2 separate regions of the Homo sapiens genome follow, and region 2 is linked to region 1. Evidence: promoter capture Hi-C in human tissues and cell types (Jung and others, 2019). All regions are on one chromosome and are shown on one strand. Each heading gives the region's core, a stretch centred on a gene start or on the middle of the fragment in contact. The rest is flanking DNA. Distances are from core to core; before and after follow the strand shown. Region 1 holds the start of EBPL (EBP like). Region 2 overlaps FNDC3A (fibronectin type III domain containing 3A).

What was found. The method cuts DNA at HindIII sites, captures the fragments that hold promoters and counts their contacts. A contact is called where the count stands out against the background at its distance.
Region 2: a contact is called between a fragment that was not itself captured here and the fragment with the promoter of EBPL in region 1, in 1 of the 25 tissues and cell types used here (spleen).

Annotation. Positions count from the first base shown.
Region 1 is chr13:49,687,576-49,695,171 of GRCh38, forward strand. It overlaps EBPL (EBP like), which reads right to left and starts at 3,911. Exons shown (of 4, transcript NM_032565.5): 1 at 3,679-3,911. The coding sequence starts at 3,849. RefSeq lists an enhancer at 3,206-4,203 and silencers at 3,667-3,806, 3,837-4,036. The HindIII fragment of the contact is 15,697 bases long and covers 1-7,596 here.
Region 2 is chr13:48,985,106-48,992,701 of GRCh38, forward strand. All of the region lies in intron 1 of FNDC3A (fibronectin type III domain containing 3A), which reads left to right. It also overlaps the pseudogene RNU6-60P. Among named protein-coding and RNA genes, the nearest start is that of FNDC3A, 13 kb to the left of the region's middle. The HindIII fragment of the contact is 5,787 bases long and covers 2,159-7,596 here.

The sequences.
Region 1 (7,596 bases), core at 2,661-5,160:
CTAGGGTGGTAAAGATCAAGACCTCACCTTCTCCTCCTCAGAGGTTTACATTCCTAAGATAAGGTCTCTCCAGAGAGAAGTATGGACAGGCCACCACCAGCTCACAATAAGATGGACGCGTAGTTCTGGAGTTCCTTTCTTGTAACGCATCCCACTGCATGTACAGGCAGTAACATCTGGCCTTCATTATGTTGTCCTGTGGGGTTTGGGCCTTGGGGAATCAAACTGGACTACCTTGTTAACTTCTAAGTTGGGTAAAATCTCGGACGCTAGAGTTTCTGACTTAACACATCACCACTAAATTATCTTTATGAAGATCTGCTTTGGCCACGTGACTTCCCTGCTTGAAATCCTTCAGTGGCTTCTCACTACAGAATACAATTCTTACCTGTCACCTTTCCAGCTGGTCCTCCCACTTCTTATGTAAACCCTGTGCTCCTGTCAATCTGGACTACAGGATGTGTTCCATACACAGGCATTCATATCTTGCCTCATGTTTCTGGCCATGCCTGAATGCTATACATAGATTGCAGAAGAGATAAAATTTTATCCATGAAGCACCAGTGCCTAGGCTGCCCACAGCGACCTCAGAATGGTGACCCCACCATTTCCTTCTTCTAGTATGTTGCCATGGCTCCTTCCAGGTAGGCTGATGGGAAGTCAGCCTGCCCTCTGCTGTAGTCATAACGAGCTGAACTGATGACCAGTGCTGGGGCCCAAGGTGACTGCACTCTGGTTGGACATCTGGGAAATGAACTGCCCCTGGGAATGCTTGGCTTGAAACTGTCCAACAGGATAGCTTTCAATTTGATGGCAGCCAAAAAACCTACAGAGCTCCTCTCTTTAAGAAGTGTCAGGGGGTGGCCAGGCGCAGTGGCTCACGCCTGTAATCCCAGCACTTTGGAAGGCCGAGGCAGGTAGATCACGAGGTCAGGAGATCGAGACCATCCTGGCTAATATGGTGAAACCCCGTCTCTACAAAAAATACAAAAAATTAGCCGGGCGTGGTGGCGGGTGCCTGTAGTCCCAGCTACTCAGGAGGCTGAGGCAGGAGAATGGCGTGAACCCGAGAGGCGGAGCTTGCAGCGAGCCGAGATTGCGCCACTGCACTCCAGTCTGGGTAATAGAGCGAGACTCCGTCTCAAAAAAAAAAAAAAAAAAAAAGAAGTGTCGGGTTAAGGAGAGGCAACTCATCTTCTAGTGAACAAGTGAGTTTTAATTTTGGTTCTCCCCTAAGCTCTACATCTTAGTCTTAGCTTGTCCCACACTTCTGGGTATTCTTGCAATAAACTCCCAAGCAAAGACAACATGGGCATGTATTTTCTTGCAGCCTCAACTGCTTAATTCAAGTGCTCTCCCCACTGATCTCTGAGACACATGTACAAAGACGTTGGTAGATGCATTGTTTGTAATGACAGAAAAATGTGTCCACTAATATGGGCTGGTTAAGTGATCGTATTCATCAAATATAAGATACATCCCAATTTAGAGACATTAAAATATCAATCAAATGGCCTACAGTAGTTACATGATGTAGTTGATTCTTCTAATATGTGAAAAAATGTGGGTCTTAGACTTGGAGAACTAAGGTATGGTGTATTCACACAGTGGACTACTTTGCAGCTGGGGTAGGTAATGGCACAAAAGGAGGTGTGTGTCGTGTTACCTGTAACAACCTGAGCTTGAAAAGTAAACAGTCTTAAACCAAGTGGTGAACACACGCATATAGTTTAAGTATTTTTACAGCTTTTTGTTTGTCTAAGGTATGTTAAACATTTTTCTTTTTTTTCCCAAGATAGAGTCTTGCTCTGTTGCCCAGGCTGGAGTGCAGTGGCTTGATCATGGCTCACTACAACCTCCACCTTCCAGGTTCAAGCAATTCTCCTGCCTCAGCCACCCGGGTAGCTGAGATTATGGGCACCGTCACCACACCTGGCTAATTTTTGTATATTTAGTACAGACGGGGTTTCACCATGTTGGCCAGGCTGGTCTTGAACTCCTGACCTCGTGATCCACCCGCCTCAGCCTCCCAAAATGCTGGGATTACAGGCATGAGCCACTGTGTCCGATATGTTATACATTTTTATATATATACATTCTGATATGCTATATACAGTTATACCCAGCCAATATGTTACACAGTTTTCTCTCACTGGGCCTAGCAACATTTTTGTTATGTTATACATTTTGTTATACATTTTTTCTAACCGGGCCTAGCAATCTGCTTTATCTCCCTTGTTCTGTGGGAAACCTTGTGTTCAAGTGATAGCTTAAAAATCAATTCTCGGCTGGTGGCGGTGGCGGTGGCTCACGCCTGTCATCCCAGCACTTTGGGAGGCCAAGGTGGGCAGATCATCTGATGTTAGGGGTTTGAGACCAGTCTGGCCAACATAGTGAAACCTCATCTCTACTAAAAACACAAAAATTAGCTGGGCGTGGTGACGGGCGCCCGTAATCCCAGCTACTCGGGAGGCTGAGGCAGGAGAATAGCTTTAACCCAAGGGGCGGAGGTTGCAGTGAGCCGAGATAGTGCCACTACACTCCAGCCTGGGCAACAGTGTTAGACTCTGTCTCAAGAACAACAACAAAAAAAAAGACAAAAAAAAAAAAAAAGAATTCTATAAATAAAGGAGTTGAGAGAAACATTCACTGTCCCTTATCTCTACATGTTGATTATCAGAATAAAAAGAATTCCAGCAACATCAGTCATGGGCACAAAGCCAACCCGTAAACATTTACAGAACTCGATGATTACCCAAAACTCGGCTTGCTTTCTCAATACTACTGACTTTGGCTTCACATTAGCCACAGGTGTGTCTAGAGTTAAACAAGGTCAACTTTACAAAAAAAAAAAAAAACAAACTGATACTTGGGCATAGTTTAAAAAAAACTTAAAAGTGTGTGTGTGTGTGTGCGTGCGCGTGTGTGGTGGGGGGCGGGGCATTTCAATATAAATGCCTTAAACACAACCTTCCTGGCTATTTTATAAAATGGGTTGAATCTCTAAGGACACATATTTCCTAAGACCTCGACTGATACACAGAGTGCAAACTTGGGAGCCAGACTAGACTGCCTCAGAATCATGCCAGCTGTGTGGCACTGGAAAGTCACCTAATTTTGCAGCGCCTACCTTCACCTCTGTAAAATGGGGAACAATAATAACTAATTTATGGATGCTGTAAAGATCTGAAATTTTAAACTCAGTAATGCGCCTGGCACACATTAGACACGGGTGTTTCGTTTGTCTTGGCAAAGGCTTCGGGTTTTGCGACAATAGCCTTGCTGCCTCCGGAGCAAGCATCTCTCCTTGCCCCCTCTGGGGCATTTAAAAATGACCTCAATTCTACTCTCAATTATGTCCAGTTCAACAGTTACGTGCAGGTTACAAAGCCGAGGAAGCTGAGGTATCTTCTAAACTAACATAGCACGTACAGAATTTTTTTAAAGTTTGGTGGAGGAATCGGCAGCACAAGGTAAGCTGCGCTCTGTTCACAGACCTGGGAATCAGAACTCCGGCCGCCGCGGCCTCCAGGCGCCTCTCAGCTAACAGACTTCCTGCAGCAGGGGGAGGGGCGGCCAGCTCGCTGCAAAAAGCCGCAGGACCCCCTCACCCCGCCTTGCCGCCCCCGCTCCCACTCTCTGGGATGGGGAGTGCAGGGTCTAGGCGATGGCACTTACCAGCGCGAAGTGCACCAGCGCGTCGTAGCAGAGCCAGATGAGCGCCCCGCGGTCCGCCGCCCCCTGCCCGCGGCCCAGGCGCAGGCCCAGGGCGCAGCCCGCCGCCAGCAGCGCGGCGCACAGCAGCAGCGAACCGCCAGCCTCGGCCCCCAGCTCCCACTCAGCGCCCATGCTTCAGGCTTCCGACGCCAACGGCCCAGGACCATGCGGCAGAGGAAAGCAGGGAGAGAAACGACGGGGCGGGGCTGGCCGGGAAGGGGCGGAGCCGGATGGCCAAGGAGGAGCGGAGCTGATTGGCCAAGGCGGTCCGGGGAGGGACGGGGCTCCCCGGCCGGGTCGGGGCCAGAGCGAGGATTCCGTGCCCGCCTCGCACCCTGGCCAGCCTGCTGAGTCCGGTGGTTTTGCCAGGTGCCGCCCATGGAGGTTCCGTAGAAGGAACGTGCTCACCAACTTGCGCAACCGCCTCGACCAAACCTGTTCCCAAACCGAGCCCAAAGGATTGGTAATAGGGCCACACCTTTTGATGTTGTTTCGCTTTTAACAAGGCTCAAACTTTAAGCCACAAAGTGAAGCCTAGGTAGTGGAAATTTTGCCAGTAGACCGGGGCAGAATTTTAGGGGCAAAAGGTTTTAATTAGGCTGCAGCAAGCCTTACCAGGGAGGCTGGGGGCCAAGGGAGTTTTCAGCCACCAGCCGGCTTAAAGCCTTTATGGCCTACTCTGACAATCTTTCCATTTCTTAAAAATCCAGAAAAGTAGAAGGGTGGGTGAGAGGAGCGGTAAGTCCTATTGGCTTGGCGATAGATGCGTTTAACCTGTGGCAGGCCAGGTTTCACTATCGCAGGCCTCCATCACAACTGCTTCAGCACTGAGTGGTTAAATTAAATATTAAAAGCTGAGGCCGGGCGCGGTGGCTCACGCCTGTAATCCCAGCACTTTTTGCCAAGGCGGGCGGATCACGAGGTCAGGAAATCGAGACCATCCTGGCTAACACGGCGAAACCACGTCTCTACTAAAAATACAAAAAATTAGCCGGGCGTGGTGACGGGCGCCTGTAGTCCCAGCTACTCCGGAGGCTGAGGCAGGAGAATGGCGTGAACCCGGGAGGCGGAGCTTGCAGTGAGCCGAGATCGCGCCACTGCACTCCAGCCTGGGCAACAGAGCGAGACTCCGTCTCAAAAAACAAAAAAAAAATTAAAAGCTGAAAGAGTCAGTGCCCATATACCAAAGTCTGGAATGTAACAAAAGCCCACCAAGAGTTTTGCCTAGGCCTTTCTTGGGCCTTGAAGCATGACAAGATAACTAAGGAATTTTTAACAGGACCCGTTTAGGATTAAACAAGTTTTATTGGGGGTCTGAAGAAACTCCCCAGGCCTCCAAAAACAAGTTTATTGGGAGTCTGGAGGAATTCCACAAGCCTCCATGATTTAGCAAGAGACAAAATAAGGGTAATCATCCCAGCACCCAGACCTATTTAGATTAAGTAAATTTACTGAGGCTCCAGAGGAAGGTCTTCAGGATTAGAAGTTGTTAATCACTTACGTCTTTAGATGAATGCACTCTTACACGTAGACATATAGCTTAGAAGGTATATACGCTCTGGAAAAACTTTGTAATTATGAGTTGGTCTGGCAATAATTTCCAGACCTTCTCCCTGTAACCGGTTGCAGAAATAAAAACTCTTCTTCCCCAGTTCATCTGCACCTCATTATTGGGCTGCCCAACCCCCAGTTTGGTCCGGGAACAAACCTACATTATTTAACATCACAACAACCCTATGAGGTCGGTGAAATAAGCCAGTCACAAAAACATACTTATGATTCCACTTACAGGAAATATCTAAAATAATCAATTTGCAGAAACAAAATAGAATGATGGTTACCAGGGGTGGGGCGGGGCGGGAGTGGGGGGGGGGCGCGGGGAAAAGTGGAGTGTTATTTATTCGGATAGTTTGATTTGCAAGATGATGTTCTGGAGATTGGTTGCACAACAACGTGAACATACTTTACTGAGCTGCACACTTAAAAATGGTTAAGATGGCAAATTTTATGTGTATTTTACAGTTATTAAAAAAAATGCTGGCACTGAACACAAGAAATTTTTCCCTTAGTCACTTCCTATACCATTTTTTATAGCAGTTAACACCAGATAGAATGATCCTTGTTTACACACTTATTGCTAATCTCCTGCCACTATAATGTAAGTCTTCAAGGCCAGGGGTTGTGGCTAGCTTTTTTATTGCTGTATCCCTGGCACCTATTACAGAGTTTGGCATATATTAGCTGCTCAGTTAAATAACTGGCGACTGAGTATGGTCAATCTAGCCACCTATGCTCTGGATCCTGTCCTGTAACTAACTTATCATCCTTTAGGGACCACTCGGCCCACCTCCCCTTCAGAGCAAAATAGAAACTTAATGAAAAAACTGATCAGATCCCCTGTCTTCATGTCTTGACCCTGCTCCTCAGTCCTTTCTACTCTGGTTTCTGCCTTATCACACTGATATAGCTCTCACTAAGGTGACTACTGGCCTCCACATCACTGAACCCCAAGAACAGTTCATTTTCTTAGTGTAGTTTACTTCTCAGCAGCATCCCAGCACTGAAATATTTTTCCTTTGGTTTTCTGAGAATACAGCCTCCTTAGCCATTCTGTTTCCTTTGCAAGTGCATCTTCCACTACAAATGCCTAGTGAATGCTGCAGCTCCACAACCCAGTCCTCGGCCCTGTTCTCACTCCAGACCCCAAATCCAGGCAGTCTCATCCTTACCCTCTGCTTTAATGACCAGCAAAACCTGCAGAGAACTCAAATCTCTAGCCTGGTCCTATTCTCTGGACTCCAGACCAGTATTTCCAACTGCCCTACTTGACAGTCACTTGGATGTCTCAATATAACCCAAACTGAGCTCATCACTTTCCACCCCAATGTCTGATTCTCCTTCCTATCTCATGTTACTTCCACTCATCAGTTACTACAACCCGGAAACCTAGAAATCATCCCCGATACTTCTCTCTCCCCAAACTTGGCATCTAAGGCATCACCAACTCCTCCTCAGCAGCCAAGTATTTCTTGATTCCATGCATTTCATGGACCTGTTCACCATCTCGTCTGTGCTTCACTCACTAATGTGACCAGCGACCTCTACATCACTAAATCCAAAGGACGTTTTCTGTCCTTAGCCTTACCAACTAGTGATCTTTATTAATCTATTATCCCTCTTGCTTAATGATGATCTTCATATAGAATACCAAAATCCTTTTTATGACTTACTAGACTGTGGGGTCTGGCCCCTCCCTATCTCTTTAGCCCTTTCCCATTCCCCTATTAATCCTCCTCTCCATTATAATCTTTCATCTAGCTATACTTGCTTTCTTTCACTTCCTCAAATACCCCATGGTGCTTCCCACAAGGCTTTGTACAGACTCTTCCCACTGCTGGAAAGCTTTTCCAGTCAATGTGCCCAATAAACTCCTGCCTTTTCACCACGATCAGTGAAATTTTGGCTGGCACTTTTTAAGGGCTCAACATTAGCCTGGTTATCACCTTTCTCAGTAGCCAATTTCCTCTAGTATGTGTATCATTGTATACCTCTTTTTTTCTAACATTTGTCAAAACTTGTCTTTTTTTTTATTCCTGTTATTTTTACAAGTATCCTGTGCCATAGCACAGTACCTGGCACGGGACAGAGTATTCAGTATTCGAATGTTTCTAAAGGCTTAGTCAGAATTCTTATTTATATAAGACTGAAGACATCGAAAGGATACATATGTAGAATGTGATCTCATGAGAAAAACTAGGCTGAAGTAAATATGAAATTTATTCTTATGTTTAGAGTTGAAAAGGGTAGATGCCCAACGATTTGGGTTAAAGAGAGCTGATGATAAAGAGGGTGTGACTTGATCACAAACCTAATTATGAT
Region 2 (7,596 bases), core at 3,802-6,301, 700 kb before region 1:
AGGAAGGCAAGCAATAGACTGGGATAAAATATTCGACATGTAATAGACAAAATTAATATTCAAGGTATATAAGGTGTACCTACAAATCAATATGAAAAAGATAACCTGATAGAAAATGGGAAAGAATGTAAGCAGGAAATTTATAGAGGTAGAAATATAGGTAGCCTGTTAAGTTTTGAAGGAATACTATTGAACCGAATATAAATAGCTTCATCTTTTTAGGAGAAAAGTTTGGCAGTATCTATCCATTTCAAATGTACGTTCTCCTGAGCCAGAAGTTTTATTTCTATATGTCTGTAATATAGAAATGCTATCATTCATTAATAGAGAGTATTGCATGATTATTCCATGCAGAGGAGAAAATGTATGATGGGAAACTGGAAGTAATAAGATCATCATTAGAACAGTTAAATTATGGTGTGCCCTTACACTATAATATTAGATACTTATGAAAAAACATGAAATAGACATAGATGTACTTCTTAAGATATTTTACATGAAAGGGCGAGATACAATATAATACATACACAAAGACACAATTCATACACACACAAAAAAAATACAATACACAAAAGCAGTGTATGTGATTTCACTTACATAACAACCAATCCCAGAAAACCTAACACACAGGTAAGCACAGAGAAAAAGACTGGAAGGGTACACCACAGTTGTTAGCTATAGAAATAGGAGTTGGATTAGGGATCAGGAAAGAGTTAAAAACAATGTTTGTATGTGTATTTTCAAGTATAAGCAAGTACAGCCTTTGTGATATAACAAACATAACAACACATGCAAGGCTTTGTTATGATTGGTCCTGATTAGGACCATTCCTCCTGGGTGGACAGCTTTGATTTATGTCGGTTTTCCCTGCGTAATTTTTAATAGCACTTCCTTTCACTTGCAGAAGCTTCCCAGTTGGTGTCTGAAGTCATTGGTGTTTTTAGAAATAGCAATTTCTGTATAGTGTTGGATCTGAAACTGTGTTAAAGTGGGTTAAAGAAGTGAGAATTCTACCAGTGATTCTTAACCTCTATAACTACAACTGCCAACCAAGACAAAATAAAGTGCTTTTTATTTTCAGAGTTTCTGTTATAAAAACACTTTGCTTTTTTAAATATAAAGTTATAATTTCGAATGTAGTTTTTTTAAAGTCCCATATGTCTGGATATTTTGATCCTCCCCTTTAATATTAAAACCTAATATTTCAAGACAGTTAATGATAGAGGTCAAGAGAGGAATCAGAAGCTTAAGAGGAAGACAGAGTAAGGAGAAGGAAGTTGTTTTTTTTTTTTTTTTTTTTTTTTTTTTGAGGCGGAGTCTTGCTCTGTCGCCCAGGCTGGAGTGCAATGGCGTGATCTCGGCTCACTGCAACCTCCGCCTCCCAGGTTCAAGAGATTCTCCTGCCTCAGCCTCCTGAGTAGCTGGGACCAGAAGCACGTGCCACCACACCCGGCTAATTTTTTGTATTTTTTAGTGGAAACGGGGTTTCACCATGTTGGTCAGACTGGTCTCAAACTCATGACCTCATGATCCGCCCACCTCAGTCTCCCAAAGTGCTGGGATTACAGGCGTGAGCCACTGCGCCTGGCCCGGAAGGTTTTTTTAAAAAGAAGTTGAAGGAAGATGAGTATGATTAGAGGCAATCTTTAACCAAGGCATAGTTGTAGATTTATAAACAAAGAATCTGGTCATCTCAGAAAGGACTACTTTAAGGACTACTGGATTCTGCAGACAAATCTACTTATAGGAAATAAAGAAATGTTACTTGATTTTATTATGATAAAATTATTTTGGAGGAATTAGTGAAGGAAACATGTTAATATGGTTAAGTTATAGTAATACAGTAGCTTTTACACAGGAACTCAAACTTTCTGTTGTGAATTTAGTTACCAATGTATTACTGTGGCCAGAAAATATTCAGAAACTACAGGTTTAATCTTCAGTCCAAAAATCACACCAATGGATTTGAAGTTCTACAAGAGCAAAGTTAACAATCTATAATATAAAAACTAAAGTTTTATATAATACTTCTAAAAAGGACAGTAAAATATTTGGAAGTGAAAATAGGATTGTCCCAGGTGTAGTTGCCTTTTGGCTCTAAAGGGTAGCCTATGTGCTCCAAAGACACTAGACAGCTAGAGCTATATGTGGAACTTAAGAAGATGTTACTTGAAAGAAAAACTGATCTATGTGCACACTATCAGTCCTTTAATGGACTGGGGTTCGTTTCTTGGAAGCAGTTCTTTCTCTCTTGTTTCCATAGTTTCCTGACTGGAAGTATCTTTTTGATCAAGATTTCCTTTGAAGTCTATTTTAACAGGATTTTCATGTTAGTATTAAGGTATAATTTCTTAGTGGGAGAATGGGGGCTGTATCTCCTAAATGTCTAATTAAATTTAAATTTAGTATATCTGACTAAGAAGGGTGAGGATGGTGGCTTGAATGCCCTCTTCCCTTTTAAACCTTTCTTCACTTAAGGGACATGAAAGAGTGAGGCTTATCCATCCGACCAACACTACTCTTTCCTTCTTTCCAGTGGATGTGGGATTGGAGAAGAATAAGATAAATAAGTTACAGTAAATTTGTTGCTAACAATCTGTGTAAATTATTGATTTCTTTGTAAGTGTATGAACACTTTCATTAGGTTAAATTGTTGATATTTTAAAGTTTTTGACCTCAGTGGCAGTTTCATATGGTTTGACCTATTGCATTATGAAACTATGGCTATAATCACTGCCCTGTATATAAAAATGTTATGGCACTTAAACAAAAATACATTATAACTTATTTAAATAGCATAAATTTGTGCGTGCTTTGGCAGCACATATACTAAAATTGGAACGATGCAGAGAAGATTAGCATGGCCCCTGTGCAAGGATGACACACAAATTCATGAAGCGTTCTGTATTTTTCAGACTCTAAACCAACAAAGATAAAAAAAGACAAAGAAGGGCATTACATAATAGTAAAGGGCTGAATGCAACAAGAAGAGCTAACTCTCATAAATATGTATGTGCCCAATACAGGAGCACCCAGATTTATAAAGCAAGTTTTTAGAGACCTACAAAGAAGCTTAGACTCCCACACAGTAATAGTGGGAGACTTTTAACACCCCACTGTCAGTATTAGATCAACGAGACAGGAAATTAACAAGGATATTAAGGACTTGAACTCAGCTCTGGATCAAGTGGACTTAACAGACATCTACAGAACTCTCCACCCCAAAGCATAAATTCATAAACAGTACATCACTGATGAAATGTCAACATCCAAGCCAAATTGGAATGTTCATGAATACACCTACTTTAGCAACAGGTAAAGCCAAAAATATTGTTACTGCAGATATGTATCATTATACATTAAAGGGTTAAACAACCTTCTCCAGAATCTAAATTGCATATGAGAATGATAAAAGCCATAATATAGTAATTTATAATTTAAAAGCTTGTAGTATGGCCAGGTGCTTGGCTCACACTTAATAGTCCCAGGACTTTGGGAGGCTGAGGTGGGAGGATTGCTTGATATAAGGAGTTTGAGACCAGCCTGAGCAACATAGCAAGACCTTGTTTTTACTAAATAATAAGTAAATAAGTAAGTAAGCCAGGCATGGTGGCACATGCCTGTAGTTCCAGCTACTTTGGAGGCTGAGGTGGGAGAATTGCTTAAGCCCAGGAGCCTGCAGTGGGCCATGATTGTGCCACTGCACTCCAGCCTGGGTGAGAGAGTGAGAACTTGTCTCAAAAAAAAAAAAAAAGATAAGAAAAAGCTTATAGTAATTTATAAGTTAAAGCTATCAGACATGAAAACCTTAAGTGTTCAGCAAAGTATGGATAAACATATACATTTAAGGAAACTACACAGGGCTGGAGAAAGAGCCAACTAAAAAGATTGTATATAGAACAGTATCCAAGCTCACACAGGGCCAGAAGAAGTGCCTGTTTCCACTAGCTAGAACAGAAAGCCTCATAATTCACAAGGCATTCAGTAGAGTACTCTGGAGGGTTTTGCATTAGTAGTGGGGAAAAATTAATTACATATTAAATGCAGCTCTGTTCTTGCCTAATCCATCGTAAAAGCAAGTCCCAAAGAGTCAAACTTTGTCCGAGTCCCTTAGCCACATGTTATAACAAATCTCCAGATTATTTATGGAAATACAAAAATATCCAACAGCCAACAAGATAAAGTTAACAGTATCTTACATGCAGTTCAAATTACTGAGTCTGCAAAGAAGCAGGAAAATACAAACCATATTGAGAAAAATTAATCACTTGAAATTGGCCTTCAAATGATACTGATGATGATAGTCATTAAAACAGTTATGACTGTTGGAGAAGCTAACAAAAAGATTGAACATGTTAAATAGAGATACTGTCTGATTAAAATTACGTGTCAAAGACATACTACATTAATGGCATGTTAGACTTTGTCAAAGAAAAGATAAGTGTACATGAAGATACAGCAATAGAAACTATCCAAAATGAAGCACAGAAGAAAATAGAATTTGGAGACAATAACTGAAAAAGTATTTGAAGAAATAATGGCTATTTTCCAAAATAGATATAAACTATAAACCAATAAGCACAATAAGCATAAGAAAGATGAATAAAACTCTGCTAAAACACATCATAATCAAATCACTTAAAGATAACTTTTTTTTTTTTTTTTGAGACAAAGTCTCGCTCTTTTGCCAGGCTAGAGTGCAGTGGCACAATCTTGGCTCACTGTAACCTTCGCCTCCCAGGTTCAAGCGATTCTCCTGCTTCAGCCTCCCGAGTAGCTGGGATTACAGGTGCATGCCACCATGCCCAGCTAATTTTTGTATTTTTAGTAGAGATGGAGTTTCACCATGTTGGCCAGGATGGTCTCCATCTCTTGACCTCGTGATCCGCCCACCTTCGCCTCCCAAAGTGCTGGGATTATAGGCGTGAACCACCGTGCCTGGCCCATAAAGGAAATCTTAAAAGCAGCCAAAGAAAAACAGAACAAAGATAAGGGTGACATCAGATCTGTCATTAGAAGCAATGTAAGCTAGAAGACAATGAAGCAATATCTTTAAAACATTTTTTTGCAAAAACTGTCAACCTGGGACTTTTTACCCAAACTGTCTTTCAAAATAAAGGCAAAATAAAGATTTCAAATATACAAAAGCTGAAATAATTTATCACTTTCATTTATGAACTAAAAGACATGTTAAATAGAGTCCTTCAAGCAGAAGGAAAATTAAACCACATGGAAACTTGGCCACAAGGAGTTTAGAGTACTGGAAGTGGTAACTATCTGGGCAAATATATAGGATTTAAAAAAAATTATTATTTGAATATCTTTAAAAGACAAATGACTGTTTAATATAAAAATGATGACAGTTGCCAGGTGTGGTGGCTCGTGCCTGTAATCCCAGCACTTTCGGAGGCCAAGGCAGGCAGATTGCTTCAGCCCAGGAGTTTGAGACCAGCCTGGGCAACATGGTGAAATCCTGTCTCTCCAAAAAAAAAAAAAAAAAAAAAAAATTAGCCAGGCATGGTGGTGCATGCTTGTAGTCACAGCCGCTCGGAAGGCTAAGTTGGGAGGATCGCTTGAACCCAGGAGGCGGAGATTGCAGTGAGCTGAGATCACACCACTGCATTCTAGCCTGGGCAATAGAGACCCTGCCCTCCCCTAAAAAATGACAACATGAGGTTTAAAACATGTAAAAGTAAAATATACAATAATAGCAAAAATCCCAGAGAAATTGCAGATTTATTGTTGTAAGGTTCTGATACATATTCCTGAAGTAGTGTATTACTTGAAGGTATACAGTAATAAGTAAAACATGTGTATTGTAAATTTTAAAGAAACCACTCAAGTAACAAAGAGTTGTAGCCTATAAATCAACAAGAGAGAGGGGATGGTATAATAGGAAATAATTCAAAATGAAGCAGATGAAGAGGGAAAAGGGGACAAAGAACATTTGAAACAAATAGCAAGATGGTGATGTAAATCCAGTCGTATCAACAATCACATTACATATAAATGGCCTAAACACCACAATTAAAAGTCAGGGATTGTTGGATACAATTTTTTAAAATTAAGACCCAAATATTTCACATCTACAAGAAATCCACTTTAAGTGAGTTAAAAGGATGGAAAAAGATATGCCATGCTTACACTATCCAAAAGAAAACTGAAATCAGTAAGTTAAACCAGAAGTTAGGTTACAGAACAAAGAATTCTTACCAGAGATAAAGAGGATTATTTCATACTAGTAAAGGGATTAATTAAGAGGGCATGCAATTATAAATATGCATCTAGTATAGGAACTGGCCTGGGGGCAGTGGCTCATGTTTGTAATCCCAGCTCTTTGGGAGGCTGAGGGGGTTGAATCAGTTGAGTCCAGGAGTTCGAGACCAGCCTGGGCAATGTGGTGAAACTACGTCTCTACAAAAAAATACAAAAATTAGCTGGGTGTGGTGGCACACGCCTGTAGACCCAGCTACTAGGAAGGCTGAGGTGGGAGGATTGCTTGAACCTGGGAGGTTGAGGCTGCAGTGAGCTATGCTCACACCACTGCACTCCAGCCTGAGTGACACAGCAAAACCCTGTCTCAAAAAAAAGAAAAAAGGAAAAAAAAAAGAGAGAGAATGTTTCTGAATATATGCTGGAACTGCAAAGAGAAATACAGATGCTCTTTAATTCATGATGAGGTTATGTCTCAATAAACCCACCTGGTTAAAATATGTCAGAAATGAGTTTAATTCACCTAACCTACTGAACATCGTAGCTTAGCCTAGCCTATCTTAAATGTGCTCACAACACTTACATTATCATATGGTTGATGAACAAAATCATCTAACACAAAGCCTATTTTATAATAAAGTGTTGAATGTCTCGTGTAATTTATCGAATACTGAAAAGTGGAAAACCGAATGCTTGTATGGATACTTGATGTATGGTTTCTACTAAATGTGTATCTCTTTTGCTCCATCATAAAGTCCAAAAATTGTAAGTTGAACCATCACAAGTTGGGGATTGTCTGTATACAAATAATGCAATTTTAGCAGAGATTTCAATACCCCTCTCAATGGAAAGTAGAAAGAATGTAAAGCCTAAAACTATGAAATTTCTTAAAACAGGAGAAAATCTCTGTGACCTTGCATTAGGTGATTTCTTAAGTATAGCATTGAAAGCACCATTCATAAAATGACAAATCGATAAATTGTACTTTATCATAATTTAAAACTTCAAAAGACATTGGTAAGAGAATATAAAAACAAGCCACAGACTGGGAGAAAAATATTTGTAAATCACTTATCTGGTAAAGGACTGCTATCTAGAATATATAAAGCACTATCAAAACTAAATAATAAGAAAACAGTCTAGTAACTAAATGGACAAAATAATCCAACAAATAGTCAACCAAAAATATACCTGGATGGCAGATAAGCACATGAAAACAACATCATTGTTCATGGAAATGCAAAGTCTCCAGTTTACAAATGGTTAGTAGGAAAATTTGAGAGATGACGGGTAAGTTCATTATCTTGATTATGGTAACAGTTTCACAGGTGTATTTATGTGTCAAAATTTATCAAATTGTACACTTTTAAACATGTGCAATTT